Regions from separate parts of the Homo sapiens genome. Here regions 1, 3 and 4 are each linked to region 2. Evidence: promoter capture Hi-C in 16 types of primary human blood cells and fetal thymus (Javierre and others, 2016). All regions are on one chromosome and are shown on one strand. The core of a region is centred on a gene start or on the middle of the fragment in contact, and the rest is flanking DNA. Distances in the headings are between cores, read along the strand shown. Region 1 holds the start of TANK (TRAF family member associated NFKB activator). Region 2 holds the start of IFIH1 (interferon induced with helicase C domain 1). Region 3 overlaps TANK (TRAF family member associated NFKB activator). Region 4 overlaps PSMD14-DT (PSMD14 divergent transcript).

Region 1 (2,965 bases), core at 189-2,688, 1.2 Mb after region 2:
ATTCTTGAAAATATTTGCCATATATTTCACAAAGGATTAATGAAATCTGTAGTCTAATGAGAAACAGATAATTTTGAAGAATACTGGGCAATATATACGGACAGGACATAGTAAGTGACAGTTAACTATAATTTGGTACATCTACACAATGCAGTACCACGCCAACATTACAATAAAATAGAGCTACATATGGCAAGACTTTCACCATATATATATATTTAATCTGAAACAGATTATCGAACAGTATGCATAATCTCATTTTCATAAGAAAGCAAAATAACATGGTTATGCACATACAGGAAAGATGTGGAAGGCTTGGATTACAACTGGGGAGAGGACTGAGAAGGATTTCACTTCCTGCTTTGCACATAGTTGTATTATTTGAGGATCCCTCCTCTCTCAAATGAGGACACAATAATTTTTAACAGAATGCACTGCTTGCTTCTCTGCTACCTCTCGTTTGGGTGTGTATTCCAACCGCGGTAAGAAGGCAGGTCATTTTCTTTTCCTTCAATTTCACGTCGCTTCTTCACTTCCTTTACTACCATCTCTCCCTTATTATAACTTGTCAAAAGCATCTCCTGTGAGGTGAGATAAACACCACTTTACATAGCAAGGCTGCTTTACTTTTGCTCGTTATAGCATAACAATAAAGGCACAGCTCTTCTTTGATTATCCTCCCCCTTTCTACTTCTAGAAAAGCACAGCTTTTTTGCCTGTAACTCGTTGCTAGTCAGTTTACACCGGCGTGAGGACTCTACCTAACGCCTGGGTTCCCACTGTGGGCGGGGTTGGCTTCTGTTCTTCCTGCCTTGGCCACCCACTCCCTCCGTGACCCTCTGGGAAGTTACCCAACTTCTCATTGACCAGGCTATGATGACACCCCACAGGAAGGCAGAGGGGAATTGTGCAACCACCTTGGGAAAACAACAGAAAGAACCAATTAAGTTTTCGAAAGAGTAACCACGATACTACTTGATTCTAGGAGGCAGTCTCTCTCCCGAAGGGAAGTCGGGAATGTTCCTGGAGGGTCCACTGCTCACCTCGACACCGCAGGCCCTTCCACCCCCATTTCCCGGGCAAAGCAGCCGGGACGAGTCCCTCCCTTGAAGCCGTTGGGGCAGAGGCCGACGATGCTATGCTGACATCGCGGGCCCGGAAACCAACCCACAAGGAGTCCGCTCCGGGGGAAGGACTCGCGTGGTTTCTCCCGCACAAAATCCCTCCCCAAACTGCAAATTGGTTGTCTCCGCTGCTCCTCGGCTTCTCTCCCTGCGGCGCCCCTACTGTCAGCGCGTCCCTCTCGCTCACGCATACAAATTCTCCGACGTCGTGCTTGACGGATTCGGACACACCAATTCACAAAGTTTCTTACTCACACAGTTCACGCTTTCAGCTGCGTTCCCTCTCCCCTCAGGTCGCCGGCGCCTGGCCGAGTGACTCCAACCGGAAGTTGCATTTTGTTCCAGTTCAGAGGGCAGTGCCTGCGCGCGGAGCCATTAACTCTTCACCTCCACCCAACAAGGCCAGGGCCCTTCCGCCCTGCCCCACCCAGCCCAGGGCTCTTCTGCCCCGCCCCTGCCCGCCCCGCCTAGCGCCCTCCCCCAGCCCTGCCCAGCCAAGTCCCCGCCTCTTAGAAAAAAAAAGCGTCAGCAGCGGAAGAGAATCCTATGTCAAGTGTAAAGGTCACTTGTGAGTCTTTGCTGGATTTTTTTGCCAAACGATAAATAACCGGTAAATAAATAACCAGTAAATAAATAACATCACCCTATATATGAGTTAGAGTACACAAGAATCACCTGAGAAACAAAATGTAGTTTCACCAACCGACTCCTACAGCTTTCATTTCAGAGCAACTGGAGTGAAGCCCAGGAACCTGCATTTTCAACAGATCCTCGTAAATTTATGTAATTAAACGTGGTTAAAGTCCACACTCTGAGAAACACTACATATACACATACCCATTTGGTTTCTCCCCAACTGGTAGTATTTTTCACTAAATGTATTTGTTAAAGAGGAATGGCTGGAAATGGAGGTGGAACTTTATTAGAAAATTTCCCATGAATTAAGACTTTCCCATTATTCCAATTCCTAGCCATGCATGAATATTATCTAAGATTCATATCTTAGATACCGCAAGAAAGATATCTTTTCCCTTTAGGGCAAGAGGATGAGGTCTGGCTGCCCCAATTTCTCCCTGTATTTCTGAATCATGGATGTTTACACATCTTTCCTTAGGCCAGTAAGTCCAAGGATTTAAAAACCTGCCAAGTTGCAGTGCATTCTGTCTAGTTATCTTGAATGTTGCTGTATACTTTTAAAAGTCAAAGCCTAAATATATTTGAAACAATGTTTTTAACAAACAGAAACTTCTTATATATAACGTTTTGACCAGTTGAATAGTTTTCTTGTAATAAGTAATTGAGTTAAACATCACAATACAGTACTGCTTTAAAAAAATTATTTAAACTTTTTTTGAGGGCAGTTTTAGATTCACAGCAAAATGGAAAGGAATGTCCAGAGATTTTCCATATACTTTCTGCCCCGACACAAGCATAGCCCTTCCCCATTATCAACATCCCTCACCCCAGTGTGATGAAAAAAAGCTGTTATAAATATCTGTGTGCAGGTTTTTTTGTGCGGACATAAGTTTTCATCTCCTTTGGATAAATACCAAGTAGTATGATTGCTGGATCATAAGGTAAGAGAATGTTTAGTTTTGTAAGCAATTGCCAAATTGTCTTCCAAAGTGGCTACCATTTTGCATTCCCACCAGGAATGAATAAGAGTTCCTGTTGCTCCAAATCCTTGCCAGCATTTGGTGTTGTAAGTGTTCTGGATTTTGGCCATTCTAATAGATGTGTGTCATATTTTATTGTTGTTTTAATTTGCATTTCCCTGATGACATATGACGTGGAGGATCTTTTCATATGGCTATTTATTTACCATCTGGTTAACTTCTTTG
Region 2 (2,883 bases), core at 300-2,799:
CTGTGAAGAAACAGAAAAGAACAGTATAAATCAGGCCTACCTGCAAGCCCAAGGTTTCATTTACTTCAACTTTCAGTGTATTTAACATTATGCCAGCTGCTATGGTCAACTCAAATACAACTCCCAGGAGAGATGTCATCAAGAGCCCACCAGTTGTGAGTAGTGTACTAGTTACTATGTAAATATATCCCTTCTTCAAGCAGCTTACAATCCTTCAGGGGTAGAAAAAGCCTTGCTACATAAGATAATTAGAGAATAAAATAAGACATGTTACCATAAAGTGCTCATTTGGATATTTTGTATGCCCCTAGTAAACACTCACCAAGACTCTGTACTTCTATTATCCTGTTCAAAGCACTATCAGGTTTTCCTGGCCTACACAGACTTTATTGAATGTACTTTGCTAACAGATTATTTTTCCTAAATATGTCTCTTTGATAACCTAAATGATCTCTCCATCCTTTATATAATTCTGGACCATGAGATTCTAGTTATGGTGCGTATGTGCCTACCACCCACAGTCACATGTGGCTACAGAATGCCTTCAGAATGAGTAGTAACCTTAAGGACTCACATTTATGTGGCTTCTGTACCAAAATGAAGCTGCCATTTTTCAGTGTGAATATGTTTTTTTTCTCTCATGACATAGACAAATGTTGATGTTTACTACAAGTTGGTACATTAGTTGCTAATTAAGTTCCTAGCTGCTCCAGCCAAAACTTGCTGTATTGAATCCAAGAAAAGAATGGCAGCTATATCAAAAATAAGTTGTTGGGGGATTTTTTTGTTTTGTTTTATTAAAGGAAAGTTGTATATTAAAGAATATAGGGAACTTACAAGCTGGGATCTAGGAAACTTTAAGTCTTGGCTTCCTTCTAAGCTGAGTTGGTGGTTCAAGTCCATCCACATCTGTTACCAGGTCCTGGTCAAAGCTGCATAAATACCAGCAATCTAAATATGAGGCAGTAAAGTTAACTGTTTATTGTTACTCACTTTTTCGAACCCACCTCCAAATTCCCAGGGAAACAAGTTAGTGTTTGGGAACCCACAGGAGGTCAGGTTTATTTTAGGAAGGACTTCCTCCTGTCTTCTCCACATCTCTGCAAAGATGTCTTCTGAGCTTCATCTCTCACCTGTCCCTCGCAGTCTCACCACCCTCAGCCAGGCCTGCCTACATTCACCAGCCGAGGGTAACTCCCTGTTCACGTCCGGGTCTGTGGCAGTTTCTGTTCACTTCCCCTTTGGAAAGTCCCAAATCACATGCTTTTATGCCCTGCACATTTTGGCCTACAAAGGACCTTATTGTTAAGGCAGAACCTGCTGGGAAAACAAAATATCCGCCGGAGGAGCTTTGCTAGAGCGTTGGTCTTGGTGTCAGAGAGAATTCGCTTTCCTTTTCTGTTTCCCGCGGTGTCCTTAACCAAAGGCCTCCTCTCTTCACCCGCCCCGACCAAAAGGTGGCGTCTCCCTGAGGAAACTCCCTCCCCGCCAGGCAGATTACGTTTACAAAGTCCTGAGAAGAGAATCGAAACAGAAACCAAAGTCAGGCAAACTCTGTAAGAACTGCCTGACAGAAAGCTGGACTCAAAGCTCCTACCCGAGTGTGCAGCAGGATCGCCCCGGTCCGGGACCCCAGGCGCACACCGCAGAGTCCAAAGTGCCGCGCCTGCCGGCCGCACCTGCCTGCCGCGGCCCCGCGCGCCGCCCCGCTGCCCACCTGCCCGCCTGCCCACCTGCCCAGGTGCGAGTGCAGCCCCGCGCGCCGGCCTGAGAGCCCTGTGGACAACCTCGTCATTGTCAGGCACAGAGCGGTAGACCCTGCTTCTCTAAGTGGGCAGCGGACAGCGGCACGCACATTTCACCTGTCCCGCAGACAACAGCACCATCTGCTTGGGAGAACCCTCTCCCTTCTCTGAGAAAGAAAGATGTCGAATGGGTATTCCACAGACGAGAATTTCCGCTATCTCATCTCGTGCTTCAGGGCCAGGGTGAAAATGTACATCCAGGTGGAGCCTGTGCTGGACTACCTGACCTTTCTGCCTGCAGAGGTGAAGGAGCAGATTCAGAGGACAGTCGCCACCTCCGGGAACATGCAGGCAGTTGAACTGCTGCTGAGCACCTTGGAGAAGGGAGTCTGGCACCTTGGTTGGACTCGGGAATTCGTGGAGGCCCTCCGGAGAACCGGCAGCCCTCTGGCCGCCCGCTACATGAACCCTGAGCTCACGGACTTGCCCTCTCCATCGTTTGAGAACGCTCATGATGAATATCTCCAACTGCTGAACCTCCTTCAGCCCACTCTGGTGGACAAGCTTCTAGTTAGAGACGTCTTGGATAAGTGCATGGAGGAGGAACTGTTGACAATTGAAGACAGAAACCGGGTAGGTGTCTGTTCAGATGGAGCTAGCCTTTTAGGCAGATTTTGCAAAGCAGGCTTCCTTGTGCGTTTGCCCCTTTCCAAATGTGCTTGACCTCTTTGGGCAAATCTAGTTTCTTCCTTTGAGAAGACAACATCTAGGCACTTTAAGACAATTTTAAAAATTTAAACACAAAAGAACTACTTTTCTAATGTTTTCACTGAAGTAAAAAGGAGTTAACTCTAGAATCGTAATGTGTATTAACAGGTAACTTTTATTGAACACTTACTATGTGCAGTTGGTATCATTTTCAAAATGTATTACTACAGTTCATGTTCAGAGTAACCCACTGAGGCTCCTAATGTTATTAACTCCATTTTACAGATGAGAAACCTGAGGCAGGTTAAATAATTTGTCCAAGGTCTCCCAGGAAAAACAGTGGCAGAGCTAAGAATTTAGCTTGTGATAGTGTTGAATGTTTTTCTTATTTAATGTAGTTCCATGGAGCAGGGGTTAGTAAACTACGGCC
Region 3 (2,784 bases), core at 239-2,738, 1.1 Mb after region 2:
GTTGAATATGCAGTGATATTTAAGGAGGAGAAAAAAAAGTGGTTAATATTTCATTAGTCCAAATCAGGCTTTATTATTGATGCAAAAATAATCAAAAATGTTTTTGTTTCCCATTCTAGGATATGTTAGATATCAACCTCTCAAAGAAAGAAATGTACATTTTCCTTAACACCTGCTTTTGTTATAGTTGATACTAAAAGTGAAATTATTTTATTCCTTTTATAAAAAATTGGAAAGATACAGAAAAGAAATAAAAATTGTCATTTGAAACCATATTTTTTCTTAAAAATTTTAAGCAATTAAAGTCAGCAAAATAAAATTGAGTTACAGAATTTTTTTTTCCTTTTTTGAGACAGAGTCTCGCTTTTGTTGTCCTGGCTGGAGTGCAGTGGCGTGATCTTGGCTCACTGCAACCTCCATCTCCTGGGTTCAAGCAATTCTCCTGCCTCAGCCTCCCAAGTAGCTGAGATTACAGGTGCTCGCCACCATGCCCGAGTAATTTTTGTATATTTAGTAGAGACAAGGTTTCAACATGTTGGTCAGGCTGGTTTCGAACTCCTGACCTCAGGCAATCTGCCCACCTCGGCCTCCGAAAGTGCTGGGATTACAGGCGTGAGCCACCGCGCCCAGCTGAGTTATGGAATTTTTAAAGATAATTCTGACTAAACTCTTTAACAAGATGTATATTCTCTCATATGTATGTAAGAAACCTAAACTTTAAAAGGCTTCTATTAAGTAAAGAAGGTTAGTTTTCAATGATACATATTTCACTTAACTCCAGTGTTCATATCAAAGACTCCCTTTAAACTTTAGTTACGATCCTTGCATGCAAAGGAATATTTATTTTTAGCTAGCTTAGGCAACTGAGTGTAGTCAATGTTTTATTTCGTTTCGGGATGAGGCTAAATAGAAATATGCTTTTAAAACAGAAACGAGAATCCTTACTTGGATCAATGTAAACCAAGAAGTAAGCCAAGGTGGGATGGGATGGATTGGTAGAGGGAATATAAACTATGGAATAGGTATAAATGTTAGCTTGATAAAATTCACTACAGAAAAAGGAAAAGTAAGTAGTAGGAAAAAAACTGAAAATAAAGATTCATTTGTCACTTAGATTTTTGAGAACTAAGAATGAAATGTTAAAGGAGGAACTGAGGTTGAATATTTCCTTACCAGTCTACATATACTGAGACAAAAGATGTTATAGTGAAGTCAAGCACTGGATACAGCTGAATCAGGGAGAAAGTGAAAAAAGGGCTGAGACAGAAAAAGATTAAGGTATAAAACAGGACCAAAAAAAAAATTACAAAAAGATATTTGATAAGAATAAACATAAAAGAATAGTACATAAAAGTTTGAGGATAAAAGATAAAAAAATAGAATATTGTATTTAATCTAAAAGAACTTACGGCCATATAAAATCTATGGTTCTCTCACCCTCATTAACATTCCTGAAAATCTAGCAAAGCAAGAGAAACACAAATCCTAGGAGCCTTGTCTGTTCTGTGTGATACAGTGTGCTAGGCAAACCCACTGCCAGTGTGGGAACAACTCCAGGGCAAAATGGGATCCATCCCAGAGTTCTGAAGGAAGTGGCAAGAAAATAAACAATATAAAAATAAAATTAAACACCCTAATTACTTCCAAGTTCTTTATTGGGTTGTGGTTTAACATAACCCATCCCCACAATCTCTACTGATTCAATGCTACAATAAAACATATTGTTCAGAAAAGGTAAAATCCTTTGCCAGTACTGCCACAATTACTGTAATTTCAATTCTATCAAAGTTAATTTGTAGAATGAGATGAATACTTTTCTACTATCTGTCTTCTAAGTCTTTCACTTTGTATTAGGTACCTTTTGCATATATCTTTCTGATTTCTTTAAAGGGAAGAAATATTTAATTGTGGACATGCTTTTTTAATGCAAAATAGAAACTGCATAACTTCAGTGAGCAATTTAATTAAGATTTCTCACACTCCTTTCACTCTTTCCCCAAACACTACATTTAAAATGAACTGATCTGTGCTGTGCATGGTGGTGTGCTCCTGTAATCCCAACTACTAGGGAGGCTGAGAGGGAGGAGTTTGAAACCAGCCTGGGCAACACAGCAAGAACTCATCTCAAAAAAGAAAAAATGAACTGATTTGGAAAAATCCTTTAACTACAAATTTAGTGTTATGCCACTACACCATGAAGAACAGAAGCTATCTTCTTGAAAATAGCTATTATTTAAGCAATTTGCATGTATTACTTATTTAACTGAAATCACAAAAGCTGCTTATTTTGAGATGGAGGTCTTGCAACGTTGAGCAGACTGGAGTCAAATTTCTGGACTCAAGCAGTCTTCCTGCTGCAGCCTCTGAAGTAGCTGGGACTACAGGTGCACGCCACTGCACCTGGCAAGCCACAAAATCTTCTGAATTACGTATTTAATTATGATTTTTAAATTTGCTTTGAAGAGATCAAATAATTTGTGTATAGTTTGGCAGGCGGAGTAGCTGTGATTGGAACACAAGCCTTTTTGCCCCAGTAGCTTTAACTACTTAGCCATAATGCTTGGCTGCTGGAGAAGCTAAGTGGTACAGTTATCCAGCATAGGGTTGGAGATAAAGAATGGTTACATTTACATATTGCACCAAGGCAAACTAATTTTAAGATTCTAAAATCTTCCTGTCATACAATAAAAAATATATTTATCACTGAGAAGCAGTTACAGGCCATGTTTTGATGCTTAAATATTGCCCAGGGTGGGAGGGGAAACCTTTGGTATAGCCTTTTTT
Region 4 (2,700 bases), core at 123-2,622, 1.1 Mb after region 2:
TCAACCATGGGAGATGGGTTAAACGTCAAAGGGTTGCATAATCAGGTACAGATTCTCTGAAAATGTGTGAGTGATTTTGAGATAGACATAACCCTCTATAGTCAGGACAAGGGGATAACATGTTTGAGAACTTACTTCAGTCCTATTAGGGGATTGATGCTTCAGAGAAAAGAGGACTACAATAAGATGAAAGCTACAGCTATGCAGTAAATAAACGTGGCATAATCATTCTGAATATTCTAGTGCTTGGTGCACTTTAAAGTGTGTGAATTCATCCATGAGGAGCTCTGAGGATGGAGGAAGTTGGCAATCTAGGAACTGGTCCTAGAAATGACCCAAGAAACTTGCTTCTTTGTATCTTTTTGGTGATAGAAGATGATGTTTCTTTTAATTTGAGGCCTTCTTGAACTGTAAGCTCCCACAATCTTTCGCTAAACAGACTTCATTCACATTCTGAATCTGGTTTTTGTCTCACACATATTAAATTTTACAAAACAGAAAGAAACAATAGAGCTTATTAGGAAAAACTTGTTTTGAATAGTAAATTAAGCATAATGGAAATAGGCACATGTTTTAGCACGGTTTTTTCCCCTTTTTTACCAATTGAACATTTACATCTTTTTCAAAGTGCTGTGATTTTCCCCTTAAGTCTTAAGCTGGCACCACACACTTTCAACAAATGAGACTTACATCACTTGTATCTGCTGAGAGAAATCATTGTAATACTGTGGATTCCAAATGCACAGCCTTCCAAAAAAGAGTTTTAGTCACCCCTAAACTGTATTAATCAAATCAATGTGGCATTCTAAGAATCCAAAGAACTACTTAATTTCAAAGACAGTGTAAATCAACTGGCAGCTCTGACTGATTTCAAAATATGCCGTTTTCAGAGACTGGAAACCTGTATATTCAGAGGTACACCTGACTACATGGTGTGTTATTAAGAGATATGCCCCAGGTGGAGGAATCTTCAAAGCCAATATATTTTCTTTATAACTGGTGTCAAATTGATGTATATATTAAAAAATCTTGGAAAATGATCTCAAAAAGGAAGTAACAGCCCAATGAGCCATATGTTCAGGGAACCTAACAGGTTTCCATTGGGACCAAATTTCACTTCACCTTTTTGTCCTTATGTGCAAATAAAAACTTATCTGTAAATACACCGTTAAAACAGTCATGCAAATTTGTGAGGTCTGTATACTGAGAGGAAATTACACTAAGCCTGTATAAACCAAGTTATTGGAAGATAAATAATTTGGTGAGATACATAACAACATGGGATTGAACTAAATTTGTTTGAGCTCTGTAGATTCACAGCTTTAGAGAGACATTGCTTCTACAGAATTGGTTAATGAAGCAAAGGCTGGTGAATAGTTAATAAATTGCTTAATTTTGATGCTGATGGAACATCTGAATCTCCACGTTTACATGAATAAATATAAAGTTAAAATTTGTTTTGCTGTTAGATAGGTTGCTATTTTAACAGATTCAGACACAAGGGAATTTTCCAAATGCCAGCTAATACTGTAGCATCAAGAAGTCTGTATATGCCAAGGGCAGAGGCCTGCTTAGTGGTTTTCCAAAGAGTGGAAAGCAGAAAGCATTAACATTTACTTACACAAAATCCTTTATGTAACTCTTCTAAGATTTTTCAACTTAAAAACTTTAAAACGTTCTGTATGATTTTAGTAGATCTGAAGTTTGCATTCAGCTATTCTATTGGTATGCCTGGGCATATTCTAAAAGGAAAAATGATTCACTCTGCACTTGTGTAGTTTTTCACATGACTAGGATCAATGAGGATGGTATAAAAATACCAAAATTTACTCATTTTAATTTCATTTTTGTGTACTTTTATCATGAAATATTACAAAGCAGAATAATATAAATGAAACCTTTGTGTATATATGACTGAGCTTTAGCAAACCTTATTTTAAATTGATTTTTTAAAAAGGAACAATGGTGTGTATAAAGTTATGCAAAGGTAGGGGTCAGCAGAAGAAACAATTACACTGCACAGGTTTTTAGTTACTCTGGAGGTCCATCTATGGCTTACGGGGAAGGAAGTTTTATGATGTTTATAAGGGTAGTTTATGTAAACCCGTAACAGTAAAAATATTTTAATGGTAGGAATAAAAGTGCCTTTTAAGTGCAACAATCAGCTTTTACGGTCAAAAAGTAACAGGAGGTTGTATGAAATCTCAGGTCCCCGCCTGCATCAACAGGTATGAAAGGCTTTTTTCAGCAGACTCGGGTTCCGATGGGCTCTTTGTCGGAGGGGCGGCCAGGGCGCTGCTGTTTTTGACTAGCTTGTCTCGGGCCAGAGTATAGAACAGAGCGGCCAGGCGGGGAGCTGGGCCTCCAGATCAGGTCCTGCCCCCATCTGCCCCACAGTCTTCGCGGCAGGGGGGAGCGCGGCCCGCTTCTTTCCAGGCCCTTCTCTCCCCGCGACGGTCTTTCGAGGGAACTCTCGAGGCCCAGACGGCCCCTTAATCTAGTCTTGGGGTCAGGAGGTCAGGCCTTGGAAGCACAGCTAATGCTAAGGCCCTTTATGTATCTTCGCTGCGATCATTTAAACCGTGGACCGGTAGCTCTGGCAAAAAAGGGGCTCCAGGGGTCTAAGAGCCGCAGCGCGCGAGGCGTGGCGGGGGGCGCTGACCTCGCCGACTCGCCGCAGGCCAGCGGGGCGCGGCCACT

The links. Contacts are between HindIII fragments. The CHiCAGO score rates a contact against its expected background, and 5 or more counts as called.
Region 1: a contact is called between the fragment with the promoter of TANK here and the fragment with the promoter of IFIH1 in region 2, in 1 of 17 cell types (non-activated CD4 T cells). The highest score is 5.1, in non-activated CD4 T cells.
Region 3: a fragment that was not itself captured here is called in contact with the fragment with the promoter of IFIH1 in region 2 in 1 of 17 cell types (fetal thymus); the score reaches 5.2 in fetal thymus.
Region 4: a fragment that was not itself captured here is called in contact with the fragment with the promoter of IFIH1 in region 2 in 5 of 17 cell types (activated CD4 T cells, erythroblasts, non-activated CD4 T cells and 2 more); the score reaches 8.0 in activated CD4 T cells.

Annotation. Positions count from the first base shown.
Region 1 is chr2:161,158,901-161,161,865 of GRCh38, reverse strand. TANK (TRAF family member associated NFKB activator) reads right to left here and starts at 1,438. Exons shown (of 8, transcript NM_001199135.3): 1 at 1,380-1,438. TANK-AS1 (TANK antisense RNA 1) reads left to right here and starts at 1,576. Exons shown (of 3, transcript NR_187173.1): 1 at 1,576-1,734; 2 at 2,630-2,701. RefSeq lists an enhancer at 965-1,728. The HindIII fragment of the contact is 6,780 bases long and covers 1-2,965 here.
Region 2 is chr2:162,317,350-162,320,232 of GRCh38, reverse strand. It overlaps IFIH1 (interferon induced with helicase C domain 1), which reads left to right and starts at 1,549. Exons shown (of 16, transcript NM_022168.4): 1 at 1,549-2,378. The coding sequence starts at 1,926. It also overlaps a transcript of GCA not described here. RefSeq lists enhancers at 317-1,516, 1,085-1,634 and a silencer at 1,665-1,754. The HindIII fragment of the contact is 6,386 bases long and covers 1-2,311 here.
Region 3 is chr2:161,218,169-161,220,952 of GRCh38, reverse strand. All of the region lies in intron 4 of TANK (TRAF family member associated NFKB activator), which reads right to left. Among named protein-coding and RNA genes, the nearest start is that of LINC01806, 25 kb to the left of the region's middle. The HindIII fragment of the contact is 3,065 bases long and covers 1-2,784 here.
Region 4 is chr2:161,239,386-161,242,085 of GRCh38, reverse strand. The region is part of intron 3 of PSMD14-DT (PSMD14 divergent transcript); the gene reads left to right. Among named protein-coding and RNA genes, the nearest start is that of LINC01806, 4.0 kb to the left of the region's middle. The HindIII fragment of the contact is 5,710 bases long and covers 1-2,700 here.